Regions from separate parts of the Homo sapiens genome. Here regions 2 and 3 are each linked to region 1. Evidence: promoter capture Hi-C in 16 types of primary human blood cells and fetal thymus (Javierre and others, 2016). All regions are on one chromosome and are shown on one strand. Each heading gives the region's core, a stretch centred on a gene start or on the middle of the fragment in contact. The rest is flanking DNA. Distances are from core to core; before and after follow the strand shown. Region 1 holds the start of NANS (N-acetylneuraminate synthase). Region 2 holds the start of GALNT12 (polypeptide N-acetylgalactosaminyltransferase 12). Region 3 holds the start of GABBR2 (gamma-aminobutyric acid type B receptor subunit 2).

Region 1 (4,833 bases), core at 743-3,242:
CCAAAACTAGGTGGCCGCTTGGGCTGGCCTCTGGATCCATCGCCAGAGGGGGTCTACAGAACCGGGGCAGGTAGCACAAGAGCAATCCCGAATGAGCCCCCAAATTTTTAACTGCTCAACTGGTTCACCATGCCCACTACCTACACAGCTGATTTATCAAAATAGGGGAATTGCAATAGAGAGAGTAATTCATGCAGAGCCAGCTGTGCAGTCTGGCTGAGTTTTATTATTACTCACATCAATTTCCCCTAGCATTCAGGGATCAGAGGTTTTTGGGGTTTTTGTTTGTTTGTTTTTGAAATGGAGTTTCGCTCTTGTTGCCCAGGCTGGAGTGCAATGGCACAATCTCAGCTCACTGCAACCTCCGCCTCCCAGGTTTAAGCGATTCTCCTACCTCAGCCTCCCAAGTAGTTGGGATTACAGGCATGCACCACCATACCTGGCTCATTTTGTATTTTTAGTAGAGACAGGGTTTCACCATGTTGGCAAGGCTGGTCTCGAACTCCTGACCTCAGGTGATCCACCCGCCTCAGCCTCCCAAAGTGCTAGGATTACAGGTGTGAGCCACTATGCCCCACCTTGGAGATCAGAGTTTTTAAGGATAATGTGGTGGGTTAAGAGAGGCCAGTATGCCAGGAGTGCTGATTGGTTGTGTTGGAGATAAAATCATAGAAAGTCAAGGCTGTCTTCTTGTGCCAAGTCAGTTCCTGGTTGGGGGACACAAGATCAGATGAACCAGTTTATCAATCTGGTGGTGCCAGCTGATCCATCAAGTGCAGGGTCTGCAAAATATCTCAAGCACTGGTCTTAGGTTTTACAATAGTGATGTTATCCCCAGGAGCAATTTGGGGAGGGTCAGAATCTTGTAGCCTCCAGGTGCATGACTCCTACGTGTCTAATCTTGTGGCTAATTTGTTAGTCCTACAAAGGCAGTCTAGTTCCCAGGAAAGAAGGAGGTTTATTTTGGGAAATAACTTATCTTATTTTTTAAATTAATTAATTAATTTATTTATTTTTGAGACAGAGTCTTGCAGTGTCACCAGGCTGGAGTGCAGTGGTGTGATCTGGGCTCACTGCAACCTCCACCTCCCGGGTTCAAGCGATTCTCCTGCCTCAGCCTCTCGAGTAGCTGGGATTACAGGCACGCACCACCACGCCCGGCTAATTTTTTTGTATTTTTAGTAGAGACGGGGTTTCTCCATATTGGTCAGGCTGGTCTCGAACTCCTGACCTCAGGTGATCTGCCTGCCTTGGCCTCCCAAAGTGCTGGGATTACAGGTGTGAGCCACCGCGCCCGCCCAGGTGATTGTATTTTAAGAGCCTGGGGCTGGGAGGTCCGGGTACTAGTCCCATCTCTGCTTTGGCTTTCTGGATGGCTTTGGACAAGCCAGTGCAACTTCTCGAACCTGTTGCCTCTCATATAATAGGAACCTCCGCCACTTCTTGAAAACTTACTACAAGCCAAGTATTGTGATCAGGGGTTTCTATACGTCATCTCACAGTTCTATTTTATTTTTTTGCTTCAGAGAGAAACAAAAATAACGCTCCGGAAGACTGAGTAACGTATATATGAGCAGGAGCTGGTGACTGGCATAGGCTGGACTCGATCCAGCTCTGTGATTCTAACTCTAGCAACCCTGTTTTTTCCATTACACCATAGGGCGCGCTCTCCCCATGCTCCTGAGAGCAGGACATAGACTATGCCCTGCGCAGGCAGCCGTCCGCCTCCTGCAGGGAATGCTTGCTCCTGGGTGCACGCACGGATACCGCGATGGTCCGAGACCACGCTCTGGGACAGCAAGCCTCAAGCCTCGCACAGGAGAGGGCCGCGGAGCTTCCTCGACCCGCCCCGCCGCCCTTCCCGCGGGAGGCCCCGCCCCCGCCCCCCGCCCCGATTGGCTGTCGGGAGAGAGGCGGGGCCTAGGGGATTGGCTGCCCGGCGACCGCGGGCTGACGTGGCGGGGCTGGCGTGTGGGTCTCGCAGCGTTGCTCACAGAACAGAGTAGAGGCGGCGGCGGCGGCGGCCGGACCCAGACTGGTAGTGAGGCTTTGGACCCCGAGCCGCTGCAATGCCGCTGGAGCTGGAGCTGTGTCCCGGGCGCTGGGTGGGCGGGCAACACCCGTGCTTCATCATTGCCGAGATCGGCCAGAACCACCAGGGCGACCTGGACGTAGCCAAGCGCATGATCCGCATGGCCAAGGTGAGGCGGCAGCTCCCGGGACCCGGGATTCGGGCGCCGGGAGGGGCGGGGCGGGGCCGCGGGGAGCCAGGGCCACACGGCCTCCGCGGCTGGGTACCCTGGTCCGGCCTCTTCCCGCCCGCCAGTTCCGTTTTCGGAATCCTTCGGATCCCTCTTCCTCACCGTGTCCGCCACCCTCGTGACCTTTCTGCATTACAGCAGCTGCCTCCTAACCCGACCTGTTTCCTCCCCGTTCTGGTGCCAGAATAATCTTTCTAAAAGTCAGACTTGATCAGACCATCCCCCCTGCCTGGCACCTTCTGTGGCTCCCTCCTGCCCGCGGGTAGAGTCGAAACCCTTTAACATAGCCTTCAAGATTTTAATGACTGGGCCCCTTCCAGCCCGTCATAATTCTTCTCTGACATTCTTCAGCGACACAGAGTTACTTTCAGGAATGACAGTTCCTGGAAGTTGCTGTGGTCTCTCTCACCCGCCATTCCCTGTATATGAAATATGAAGTGGTTAAAAGCCGGGCCTTTGAGTTCAAATCTCAGTTCCACCACTACTAGCTGTGTGAACATGGGCTGCTTACTTAGCCTCCGTGAACCCTTTTCCCCATTTGAAAACGGGGCTTGAAAACAACAGTTCTTTCCACATGGAGTTGTTATGGGGATCAAATGAGATTCTCAGATAGAGCTCTGAGCCCAGCACTTGGCACACATGAGTCGGTAAATGCGTGCTCCCTCTTCTGTTGGGACTGCCATATTCTTCATTACGACCCCAGCCCCCAGCATAAGGCCTGGCCTGCACTATGATTCTTTGGTTTAGAGATAGCTCACCCCATCTTTCCTTTCCCTTCATCAATGCTACTCAACTGATTTTGTATCATTTGTGATAGGTTTTTTAAATGTTTATTTATTTATTTATCTATGTTAGAGACAGGGTCTTGCTCTGTCACCCAGGCTGGAGGTTTTCTCTTACTGTTTTTTTTTTTTTTTCCTGGTTTTTTTTTTTTTTTTTTTTGAGACAGGGTCTCTGTATCACCCAGGCTGGAGTGCAGTGGCATGATCCCGGCTCACTGCAACCTCTGCCTCCCAGGCTTAAGTGATTCTCCCACCTCAGCCTCCCGAGTAGCTGGGACCCACAGGCGTGAACCACCATGCTGGGCTAATTTTTTTGTAGAGATGGGGTTTGGCCATGTTACCCAGGCTGGTCTCGAACTCCTGAGCTCAAGCAATCTGCCCACCTTGGCCTCCGAAAGTGCTGGGATTACAGGTGTGAGCCACCACCCTCGGCCCTTGCTGTTCCTTCGGGACTGGTTTTATGGAAACCTAATCACTGAATCATAAAAATACTTTACAAAAATAACATTGCTAACATTTTTTGAGTGCTTACTCTACCAGGTACTAAGCTAAATGCTGTACATGCACCATCTCATTTAATTTTTACAACAACCCAATGCCATGATGCTGCCGATTTCATTTTAAAGGCTAAGAGAAAATAAGTGACTTAGGCAAGGTCACATAGCTAGTATAATAAATACAGTAAGGGGTTTTTTCAGTTTTTGCTCCTAAGCCACAGGACTCCAGCCTTTCTTCTGCAACATTGTTTTCTAGAGGGAAATTCCCACTCTTAATTTGAAGGAGCAGTCTGTTTTTCCTCTTGGAATGCCGAAGTTGTAGAAATATCTAGAGATACTGAAGCCATAGAAACAAAGCTGTACTGACCAGGTGCAGTGGCTGATTCCTGTAATCCCATCACTTTGGGAGGCTGAGGAAGGCAGATTGCTTGAGCTCAGGAATTCGAGACCAGCCTGGGCCACATAGCGAGACCCTGTCTCTAATTCCATTGAGCTGGAATCTAGGTGGCTGCAGCCTTTAGGAAAGGGATCTGGCCAGCTCTGCTAGAGACACTGTGCAACTTTAGTCAGGTCAGTCTGGGCCTTGGGATCTTCATCTAGACAATGAGAGCTCTGTTGCCCAAGGTCACTTTCAGTTCTAATGTTCTTTGAACTTTCCAGCATCAAGTCCTGACTCTACCATCTTATGATTTGTCTAAGAGCAGGAGTAGTGATCTCAGCACTGACATTTCTGGACCCAAGAAGTTTTTATTTTTTTTTTTCAAGACGGAGTCTCGCTGTGTCACCCAGGCTGGAGTGCAGTGGCGTGATCTCGGCTTACTGCAAGCTCCGCCTCCTGGGTTCACACCGTTCTCCTGTCTCAGCCTCCCGAGTAGCTGGGATTACAGGTGCCCACCACCACACCTAGCTAATTTTTTGTATTTTTAGTAGAGACGGGGTTTCACCATGTTAGCCAGGATGGTCTCGATCTCCTGACCTCGTGATCTGCCCACCTCGGCCTCCCAGAGTGCTGGGATTACAGGTGTGAGCCACTGCGCCCGGCAGCCAAGAAGTTTTTAATAGCATGAATACCTCTGTGTCTACAGAAATGGCCGTGAGATGGGACTTTAGTGGGTTTTAATTACTCTTTTTCTTGAGTAGATTGTTTTTGTTTGAGTCAAGGTCTCACTCTGTTGCTCAGGCTGGAGTGCAGTGGCACCATCATAGCTCATTGCCACCTCAACCTCTGGGGATCAAGCGATCCTCCCCCCTCAGCCTCCTGAGTAGCTGGGACTACAAGCGTATGCCACCATG
Region 2 (4,833 bases), core at 1,240-3,739, 750 kb after region 1:
ACAGATAAGCCCCCTAAAAATAGCAATAAACCCAAGGGCTTTACCTCTGTTGAAAAGATGCTAGATTTCCAACAAGCTCCCAGGTGGTACCAATGCTTCTGGTCTAAATATCATACTTCACTCAGCAAGGTGCTGGACATCTTCCCTTTGCCTTACTGACACTCTCTCCACTCTGTTTTGTGCCCCGGGAGGCTGACTGTGCAGACTGTATCACTCAATCTTCTCAACAACCCTGTTCAGGTGGTGCTATCATTAGATCACCATTTAATAGATGAGCAAATTGAGCCGAGATAAGTAAAGCAACTTGCCTGAGGTCACACTGCAATTCGTGATGGGGCTGGGTTGAGCTCAGGCAAGTGGGCTCCAAGGTTGTGTTCCGACCTCCTAAGCTAAGCTGCCTTTGCATCTCATTGCAGCCTGCCCAACAGTGAGTGGTGTGGTGGGAAATCCTGGACTGTGAGTCAGGAGACCCAGATACAAATCCTCCCTCTACCGCTTGCATGTTGTGTAACCTTGGGCAAGTTGCTTCACTTCTTGAGCCTACATATTCTCATCTGTCAACCTTGCAAGGTTGTCATAGGGTGAAATGAGAAAGTACATGAAAAAGAAAGTCCAGCAGTTTACAGCACACAGTGTGTGCTCAGTAAACAATAGCTTTTATCTGTTACCTGGGGCTTAAGTCCATGTCTTGTAAGGCCTAATTGCATTTCTCTTTTCTCTGTATCTGAACCTCTATTGAGAAGCATTCCAATTTGGCAAGCGGATCCAAGACATTATGAATTGTAATCCTTGTCTGTTTTCTAATCTGACCGCAGATCTTAAATGTGTTGGGTGTCTGAACAGAGGCCAAAGGGCTCAGGTCCAGACCTACCTAACACAACCGCCTTCTGGCATTAACCAGCAGCCTCCATTCTGCGTGGGAAGCAGGCGGGGCCCTGAGCACTGTGGGAAGAGCCACTTCCCTCTAGTCTAATATTAGCAGCAGGTTGTCCTGAGTGGGAGCTGCTTTGCATGGTTCATCCCAAAACCCACCCCCCTCCTGCAACCTGAGGGAGATTTCCTCTGGGGATACCAGTAGCCAAAGGCTGTATGAAGACAACAGCAAGTCAGATTCTACCTCTACCTGAGCCGCCAAGTTCAAGGTCCTCTCCCCACCCTGTGTCTCAGACCCCGCATTTATCAATGAGATAATTGGACCAGATTTGTGCTTTTTAAACTTTCTGGGCTTCTGGTCTCCTTGAGAATATTTGATAAAAAGCTTTGGACCAACTTCCCATGGTAAAACAAACAACAACAAATAGAGCTTACACTCTATCCTTCTACAGGGGATACAGAATGATTCTTTTCCCTGAGCTAGACACCAGCAGAGGGAGTTCCAGATTAATTTAAGATATGATTTGAAATCTCTGCTATCACTTTTACATTCAGATATCTGTGTAGACATTACTTCATCAGAGAAGCTTTCCAAAACCCCCAAACTAGATCAAGTTCTACTATTCTAAGCCCTTTTAGCGCCCTGTAATTCTTCTTCAAAATACTTAACACAATTCTAATTATCTTTTTAATATTTGTCTACTCCATTAGACTTACTTCGTCCCTGGCAGCTCAAGGCTCCCACAGCAGTGATCTCATGAACAGGGCGGCAGCTTCATGGCCTTTTTTGGTTGTTGTTTAATAGAAACAGGATCTCGCTTTGTCATCCAGGCTGCAGCGCAGTGGCGCATAGTTCACGGTAACCTCCAATTCCTGGGCTCACACAATCCTCCTGCTTCAGCATCCTGAGTAGCTGGCACTATAGGCACGTGCCACCATGCATGGCTAATTCTGAAATTTTTCTGTAGAGATGGGAGTCTTGCTATGTTGACCAGTCTCGTTTTAAGCTCCTGGCTTCAAGTGATCCTCCTATCTCGGCCTGGGATTACAGGTGTGAACTATCATGTACAGCCTTCATGGCCTTTTGCTCCTAGCCTCAGAGGTCACAGAGCTATCACGAGGCGAGCCAGGCGAGGGTTTGCTATTCAAGGACTCCAAAGAGTATGGCAGAGGCTGGGCCTGCAGAAGTCAGTGGGGCAGCGTGGTGTCTGTTGATCTCATCGCACCTCCATCTCCTCATCTGTAAAAGGGAGCTCGTAATCCTAGTTGATGGTTGTTTTATTGGACTGTGTAAAGATCAGATGAGATAATGGCAGTAGAATTCATAACACCCTGCAGGGTGTATTCAGCCAACACTTAGCGCCTACAATATGCCAGGCGCTAAGGGTTTTACCACCACTATCTCTTTAATAATGCACCATAGCCCAAGAAGGAAGATGCAAGTCTCAGCCAGCCCACTTGAAGACCCTGCCGAAATGAGCCACCCCGGGGGCTGCGCTTGGGCTGGCGCGGGGCTGGACGGAAAGGGGGCGGCGCGCAGGTGGGGCGGGCCGGGGGCGGGGCGGCACGGCGGTTCCGGGATCCGGGTCCTGGCCTCCACCGCCGCCTTGGGGCGCGCAGATCGCTGGCTGCAGTTGGCGGGCGCATGTGGGGGCGCACGGCGCGGCGGCGCTGCCCGCGGGAACTGCGGCGCGGCCGGGAGGCGCTGTTGGTGCTCCTGGCGCTACTGGCGTTGGCCGGGCTGGGCTCGGTGCTGCGGGCGCAGCGTGGGGCCGGGGCCGGGGCTGCCGAGCCGGGACCCCCGCGCACCCCGCGCCCCGGGCGGCGCGAGCCGGTCATGCCGCGGCCGCCGGTGCCGGCGAACGCGCTGGGCGCGCGGGGCGAGGCGGTGCGGCTGCAGCTGCAGGGCGAGGAGCTGCGGCTGCAGGAGGAGAGCGTGCGGCTGCACCAGATTAACATCTACCTCAGCGACCGCATCTCACTGCACCGCCGCCTGCCCGAGCGCTGGAACCCGCTGTGAGTGCACAGCTCTGGGGAGGAAGCCCGCCCTCAGAGCCCCGGGCCTCAGTTTCTCCATCAGAGCAGTGGCAGGGCGGGGAGCTGGGGTCTCCAGGATGGCGCGTCTTATTGAGTCTTTCTCCGAAGACGATAGTGTAAGAGCTCACATGGGGGCGGGGAGGCAAGAAAGTAAAAAAGACGAAAGTAGAAAAAAAATTACCAGAAATTGGCAAGTCTGTTAGTGATCTCTTAGCTCCCTTCTCCTTGAGAAGTTATCATCTCCCTGAAAAGGTGAGGGTCAGGGCTAAGCAGAAGGGTTTAAGGCGAGGACCCCCCAGCACCCAAAGGACAACCCCGCTCTGCCCGCCTCGCAGTGCCTCCGCGAAACTGACAACTCCTCCGGGCGGTGACCGGCTCCATTCATTCTCTGTGTGTGCCAGGGCCTAAGGGACAAACAAGATGCGAGGGAGCGCCCCACAGGTGAAGCGAAAGATGGCTGTAAGGCCCCCTCAGCGCTAGAAAGCCTCCTTGTGCTCTCCCTGGGCATTGGATTTCTGAGCTTTGGGTGGAGGAAGGCGGGAAGGGGCACGGGGTGGGAAGGGCTCCTTCTGGCCGTGATCCACCCCAGCTCACTCCTGTGGGTGGTGCTGGACTGGAGCCAGCGTGGTCAGAGGCCTAGTTCCTGTTGGAGCTACTGGCTGGGCAGGTTGCGCCCCTGCCTAGGTGGGGATCCAGGGCACACGCTGGCAGCAGGAGGAAGGACAGGTGGCTGCTGCCACCTTTGCCGCTGGGCCTCCCGGGCTCTCACTTTTTCTTCGAAGTGTCAGGGATCTTCCAAGTCCTTTTTTGAGCCCCTTCCTTACAGACTTTGAGGAAAAGAGGACTCAGAGAGGGGGTTCCCATTGGAGCTGGTGGTGGCAGCCTGCCGTGTGCACCAGGCACCTGCCACTCCTCTCCCCTTCAAGCCATTCCTGCTTTACAGGTGTGGAAATAGGTTCGGAAAGGATAGGTGACCCACCCAAGGCCCCTCAGCTGGAATGTGGTAGGACTGGTCTGGAGGGACTATGGCCCTTCTGGCCCACTTGGCACCATGCTGATCTCAGGATTTTAGGGGCCTGCTCCATGGTACCTTGGCCAGAGAGACCATGAATGATGGAATGAGGATGCCCCACCTCTGCCCCACTGTTTCCACTGTCTTCCCTGTTTTGGGGATCTCCTCATGCCTAGCCTCATGCTTCTGCCTGAGGCATTTTTCACTGTTAGTCTTTTTGAATAAAACTTTGTTGGGATTGATAGTAGTTCCTCCACTCACCAGCCTAACGCATGTTTAGCTCCTCGAAACCCCGAGGGTGCCCGCTGAGGCAAGGTGGAGGGGAAGCTTTCAGGTTATACCCAGCTTCAGATTAAATCCAGCCCAGGGGAGATAAAATCCTGGTTCTTTTGCTCGTCACTTCTGTGATCTCTGGCAAGCTGCTTAGCCTCTCAGAGCCTTGGTTTCCCTTCGTTTGCGAAATAGGAAACTCATAAAAGTGAGTCTCCATGCATTCTACATAAAAGTGAGTGGAAAGAACACAACTTAGGAATTAATAAAGCATCAATACCTGGGAGCACACTGTGTGCTTAAATCTTAGTTTTTTCACCTTTCCCTGTTGCCAAGAATGTACTCAAGAGGTTGCTTTTGAGAGTCATCCAGGGATTGGTTGTAGTTTTTCTTTCCTGGATCCAACTTCCTTTATTGTCGCAGGTTGTGAATATCTCTTTGAAACACTGTGGACAATCTGTGGGGCTTATGGTAACCTGTCTCCATGGTGACGCAGCTGCCCTGTGTCCTCTCAGGATTTGCTTGTAGATCCTGCTGTTGCATTGACCCTGGAAGTTAAGCCAAACCCAGCATGATAAGGAGTGTGAATGCCTCCTGCTTCTAATTCCTGCAGCAAGGCCTGTTGGGTTATTCTTACCCAG
Region 3 (4,833 bases), core at 700-3,199, 650 kb after region 1:
TCCTCTGGGGCAGAGGACGCCTCTCCGCCTGCAGCAGCCTGCGCGTACCGCTGCCAACTGCCACCGGTTCCTTCACCTTTTATTTACAGCGCAGAGCAAGCTGGTTCACCGGTGAAGCGGGGGAGGCAGGGAATAAGATACAATCTAGATTCTGCTCTTTCTCTGGGGACATAAAGAGGGTCCGACCAAGGAGGAGGGGAAGCCCAGATTGCACCACCAGAGCAGTAGCGCGACCCTCCTCCCAAAAGGGTTCTGCACCTGGACTCCAGCAGAAGCGCCCGGAGAGTCCCAGGAAGCCAGGATCAAGCCCAGCGCCTCGGCCCCGTTCCGCGCGATGGAAGAGGCGCCAACCGAGCGTACTGCACAGGAAATCACTGCCCCCTTCAGGCCGCGTCTCAGACGCTGCGGTCGGAGCACAGGGGCTCGCTCGGTCCGGAAAAACTCGCAAACCCGACCTTGCGCGGCCAGCGATCGCTCCTCCAGACCCGCTCCGCGCGCTCCAGCCCCGGCCTGGCGGTGAAGGTCCGCTCTGGGGCTTCAGGCAGAACCCAAACCGAGGGCGTGGGGAGGGGTCTTGGGATGGAAAGCCCTTGGCTCTCTGGCTCCGCTCCGGACTGCTCTCCAAGTCTGTGCTCCGGCTGCTAGGTCGGATGCTTCAAGCCTGAGCCGTGAGAAACTGCCTGCAGCCGCCCGGCCAACAGCAGCGGCGCGGCCGGACACCACTGCACGTCCGGGACGAGAACTGCCAGGGCACTTTCTGAGCAACTAACCCGAGGCAGGGGTCTCCTGAAATCGCTCTGGCCACAGGCAGCGCCGGGCACGTCCAGGCAGAAGCGCTGCAGAGCCGGTGGCCCCACACTTGCCCGCGCGGAGCGGGCTCAGAGCTGCTGGCGCGCACCAGGCGCCCAGCCACGCTGCACGCTCAAGCCCCTTGGGTTCCGGAGCCTTCCGGACCTCAAAGCGCGGCTCGGCTTCCCTGGGGGCCTGTGAGCAGGCCCGCGGCCCCTCCGGCCCTGGGTGGCCCAGTTTGCAGTCAATGCGCCTGTTCCTCCCACTCGGTACCTCGCAGCCCCATGAGCGGGACCTGGACAGGGACAATCAATGTAGGCCTTTGGGGGTCCAGCCCCCACCTTCTCCACTCCTTTTTCTCTGGTCAAAAGAGACCCCAGTCTTCTATCCCACCCCCACCCCTCCCCACACACACATACACACATAAGACCAGAGGAGGGGGTGCTTGGCAAATGTTACCAGCTGTGCCAGCCAAGCCCAGCAGGACCGCGGGGGTGAACACTGGGCACCAGCCCTCTCTGCCCTCGGCAGGCGCGGGCCGGTCAATCGGGGATCTGACCAAAGGCCGGAGGTTGCCTGTGTCCAAACCACCCACCCCAATGCCCCCCGAAGCCCCGACGGCAGGGGCAGCCGGACACTCACCTCCGTGTCATAGAGCCGCAGGTCGAGGAAGTAGGGGCGCAGGAGTGACTCGTTGCGGATCTGCTCGATGGCCAGTTCCACGGCGGGGAGCACACCGCGCCCGATGCTGCCCTTGGCCACCTCCTTGGTGAGCGGCATGAGGCCCATGATGGAGAGCGGCGGGCTGCTGGGCGGCGGCCGGGGGGCGCCCCGCGCCCAGCCCCAGGCCCCGGGCGCCAGAGGCAGCAGCAGCGGCAGCAGCAGTAGCAGTAGCAGGCGCGCGGGCGGCGGTGGCGGCGGCGGCGGCGGCCCGGGCTGCCCGGAGCTCCGCGGGGAAGCCATGCCGCGCCGCGGGCTGCGGGCGCCGGCTCACTCGGCCCGCATGGCCTGGCCCGGCCCGCCGCCCCGCGCCAAGGTCTTCCCGCGGCGCCCGCGCAATGGCGCCGGCCCGGGCCCCGGCTCCGTCTCGGGCTAGGGTTCCGGCTCGGCTCAGAACGGCCGCGGCGGCGGCGGCGGCAGCGGCGGCGCCCGTGACGGATCAATCACGCCGGGAAGGGGTGGGAGCGAGCGGAGTGCGGGAGGCGGGGAGCAAGCGAGCAAACGCGGAGAGGGGGGCCGGCGTCTCCGCGCGCGCCTCTCTCCAGCGCGGCCGCCCCGCACCGGGCCGCCTCCGCCCGCCCCCGTGCGCGCTCTGAACCGCTCTCCCGCCGGGAGCTGCTAGGCGGCAGCCCCTGGAGCTCGGCCGGGGGAGGGCGGACGGCAGGAAACGCGGGAGGCGAAGGCGAGGCTGCTCAGGGGCGGCTCGGGCCGCCTCCAGGGACGGGGACGAGCCGTGCGCGCCGGGGGAGGGGGAGGCGCTGGCGCTGCGGCGGCCGCGGGGAGGGCCACCTTCCCAGCACACGCACACACGCGCCCCCGGCCCTCCGCTGCGCCAGCTGCCGCTGCCCGCCGACCGCTGACCTCCAGGCACCAGAGCGCCCGGGGACAGCGATCTGGGAACCGGGACCGCGCGCTGGCACACGCAGTGGCCGCCGCCGCTCCGCCGAGCGCTGCCTGTAGCACCTGCACGGTGGTTTGGAACCGCTTCTCGGAGGTCTGGCCGGGAAGGTCTGGGCAGGAGAATGTTCCACGAAGGCGTCCCAGAGGCATCTGCAGCCTACGCTCTCCCGTTCTTTTCTGGCGCCCACGAGCCCCTGACCGAGTCCCGGGGGTCGCTGAAGACGCCCACGGGTGCTCGAACGCCCGTTGGTGCCAGGCTGCCCGGCCTTTAGGGCCTTGGCTGAGGACACCCCTTTCCTCCCCACCAGACGGAGCGACCGCCCTTTGCCAACCCCAAGCAAAGCTGGGGTCCCAACCTTACGTGCGCTACCGCCCCCTCCAGGCATTTGACCTCCCCGCGTCCCCATTCTTGATGGGCCCCGCCCTAGAAGTCTCCCGGGGTGGGAGCACTATCCTCAGGCCAGGGCGGGGCCGCGCGCCCCTGGACTTGGCCCTCTCTCTGCCAGGTCGCACTGGCCAATCTTAGCCAAAGCAGTCCCGAGCCAGATGTACCCGAGTGAGCTGACCTAAGACCTTGGGTTCCTTGTGCCTCTGCATACTTCAAGAATAGGAAACGTGATCATTAATCTATAAAGTCCCAGGGGCTGATTAATGCGAGGAACACAGTAGGACATCAAATCACAAAACATACTTGAGCCTGAACCAGGGACTGTGGAAGATATCGACGACCTTGTAACAAGAATGGAAGTTTGACCTTCGCTGAGTACTTACTGTGTGCCTTATGATGTAATCCCCACAACTGCCCTGTAAGCATACTGTGTTACTCACCCTTACTTTACAGGCGAATACACTGGTGCTCAGAGAGGTTCTGTAGCTAGTGGAAGCACACAGAGCTACTGAAGGACCGGAACCCAGAGCCAGCAGGAACTCCGTGCACAGTGCAGTGGGAGCCAGGGATGTGGGACTGCAAGTTTCCTCTCCAGGAGGAGCACTGCCCTGACTCAGTTGCTCTGGACATCGATTCCCTCCGGCATATGGTGAGGGATTTGGACCGGATGATGATGATGATGGCCACACACCAGCTCTACTGGAGTGAGGCAAGGGCAGCTCTGAATCCAGGCTGAGTTGTTAGGAAGCACAAAGATGTGAGTGGAGGCTGAGCAGAACTACTAGAGAGTACCTTGGACAGCGCCAGGGAAACCAGGCCAAATTCTCTCTGCCCTAACTTCTCTTTCCAGGCTTCTATAGACTCCACCTCTCCCGGCTCCACTTGGCATTTCCTTTTCCCCAAGCTGGAGGGTTTGCATGAACAGAACTCACCTGAGCATCTCCTCCAGGAAGGGAGGAAGGAAGGGAGGGAGGGAAAGAAATGGTCCAAAGGACAGTGTAATCCCCAGATACTCGCTCAACTGCTGTCTCACTTGACATCACAAATATCCTCCAGTCATAGTCTTCTGGCACCTGCCATTCCTCAAACCCTTAGCTCAGGTTTCTGAATGAACATTTTCACTTGGTTTTTTTCTTTTTTCTAATTCTTTCCTTTAGTCATTTGTGTCCTCCTTGCAAGCTGTGCCAATATAGAGTGTCCACTGACACCTACATCTGGGAATAAGTTGAAAGCTGGGTAACTTTGCCTGACATTTACTAAGGGGTTGAAGGCCCTACCTGGCATCCTGCCCTACAGCCCCTCTGTCTTCTTTTATGGTGGGGTGACCTGGCCCCAAGACGCATGACCTGGGATCTGCCCTGACCCAGGGGGCACCAATCTCACTCTCCATCAGCATGGCTCCAGGCCAATCTCTGATCTCACAGCCCACTCCTAATGCCTGGGCATCCCTCTGGTTCCAAGATCTTACTCTGGCCTGGTATTACAGTTTGGGTAACTGCATCCCTGATGTGCTTCCTGAGTCTGAGTTCCTGCCTCAGTCACCAGCCTAGAATGCATGTTCCTCCAGAGCTGGGGTCCAGCGTCTTGCTTTATAATAATCATTCATTCCTTTGACCAGTGTTTTGAAGGGCATGCTACCTGCTAGGCACTGTCCTAGGAGCTGATGATATAGGAAGGAAAAAACCAGAACAAAATCCCTGCCCTTGTAGAATTGACATTCTAGTGGAGAAAGAGAAACAATAAATAGGAAGAAGAAGATATGTTAGTATGCCCATTTATGAAAAGTGCTATGGTGAACAAAAAAGCAGGAAAGAGGATTGAGACTGGCAGAGTGGGGCTGCAATTTGAAATAGGGAGGTCAGGGAAAGACACACTAAGGTGACTCCTCAGCAAAGACATAAAGAAGGTAAGTAAGAGAGACAGGCGAATAGTGTTCCATGCAGAGGAACAGCAAGGGCAGAGGCTCCGAGACAGGAGTGTGCCTGGCATGTTCAAGGAACAATGTGGAAGCCAATGTGGTAGAGCAGAGTGGGCAA

Evidence for each region. Contacts are between HindIII fragments. The CHiCAGO score rates a contact against its expected background, and 5 or more counts as called.
Region 2: the fragment with the promoter of GALNT12 here is called in contact with the fragment with the promoter of NANS in region 1 in 9 of 17 cell types (M0 macrophages, fetal thymus, total B cells and 6 more); the score reaches 10.1 in M0 macrophages.
Region 3: the fragment with the promoter of GABBR2 here is called in contact with the fragment with the promoter of NANS in region 1 in 1 of 17 cell types (endothelial precursors); the score reaches 6.8 in endothelial precursors.

Annotation. Positions count from the first base shown.
Region 1 is chr9:98,054,740-98,059,572 of GRCh38, forward strand. It overlaps NANS (N-acetylneuraminate synthase), which reads left to right and starts at 1,993. Exons shown (of 6, transcript NM_018946.4): 1 at 1,993-2,201. The coding sequence starts at 2,070. It also overlaps a transcript of TRIM14 not described here. RefSeq lists enhancers at 1,502-1,551, 2,592-2,711 and silencers at 1,742-2,091, 2,172-2,341. The HindIII fragment of the contact is 20,554 bases long and covers 1-4,833 here.
Region 2 is chr9:98,805,181-98,810,013 of GRCh38, forward strand. It overlaps GALNT12 (polypeptide N-acetylgalactosaminyltransferase 12), which reads left to right and starts at 2,490. Exons shown (of 10, transcript NM_024642.5): 1 at 2,490-2,889. The coding sequence starts at 2,519. It overlaps LOC124902229 (a long non-coding RNA gene), which reads right to left and starts at 2,400. Exons shown (of 2, transcript XR_007061689.1): 1 at 1,591-2,400. RefSeq lists silencers at 2,372-2,461, 2,562-2,631. The HindIII fragment of the contact is 2,789 bases long and covers 1,459-4,247 here.
Region 3 is chr9:98,706,986-98,711,818 of GRCh38, forward strand. GABBR2 (gamma-aminobutyric acid type B receptor subunit 2) reads right to left here and starts at 1,950. Exons shown (of 19, transcript NM_005458.8): 1 at 1,432-1,950. The coding sequence starts at 1,752. RefSeq lists enhancers at 1-147, 719-1,289, 3,042-3,336. The HindIII fragment of the contact is 8,458 bases long and covers 1-4,833 here.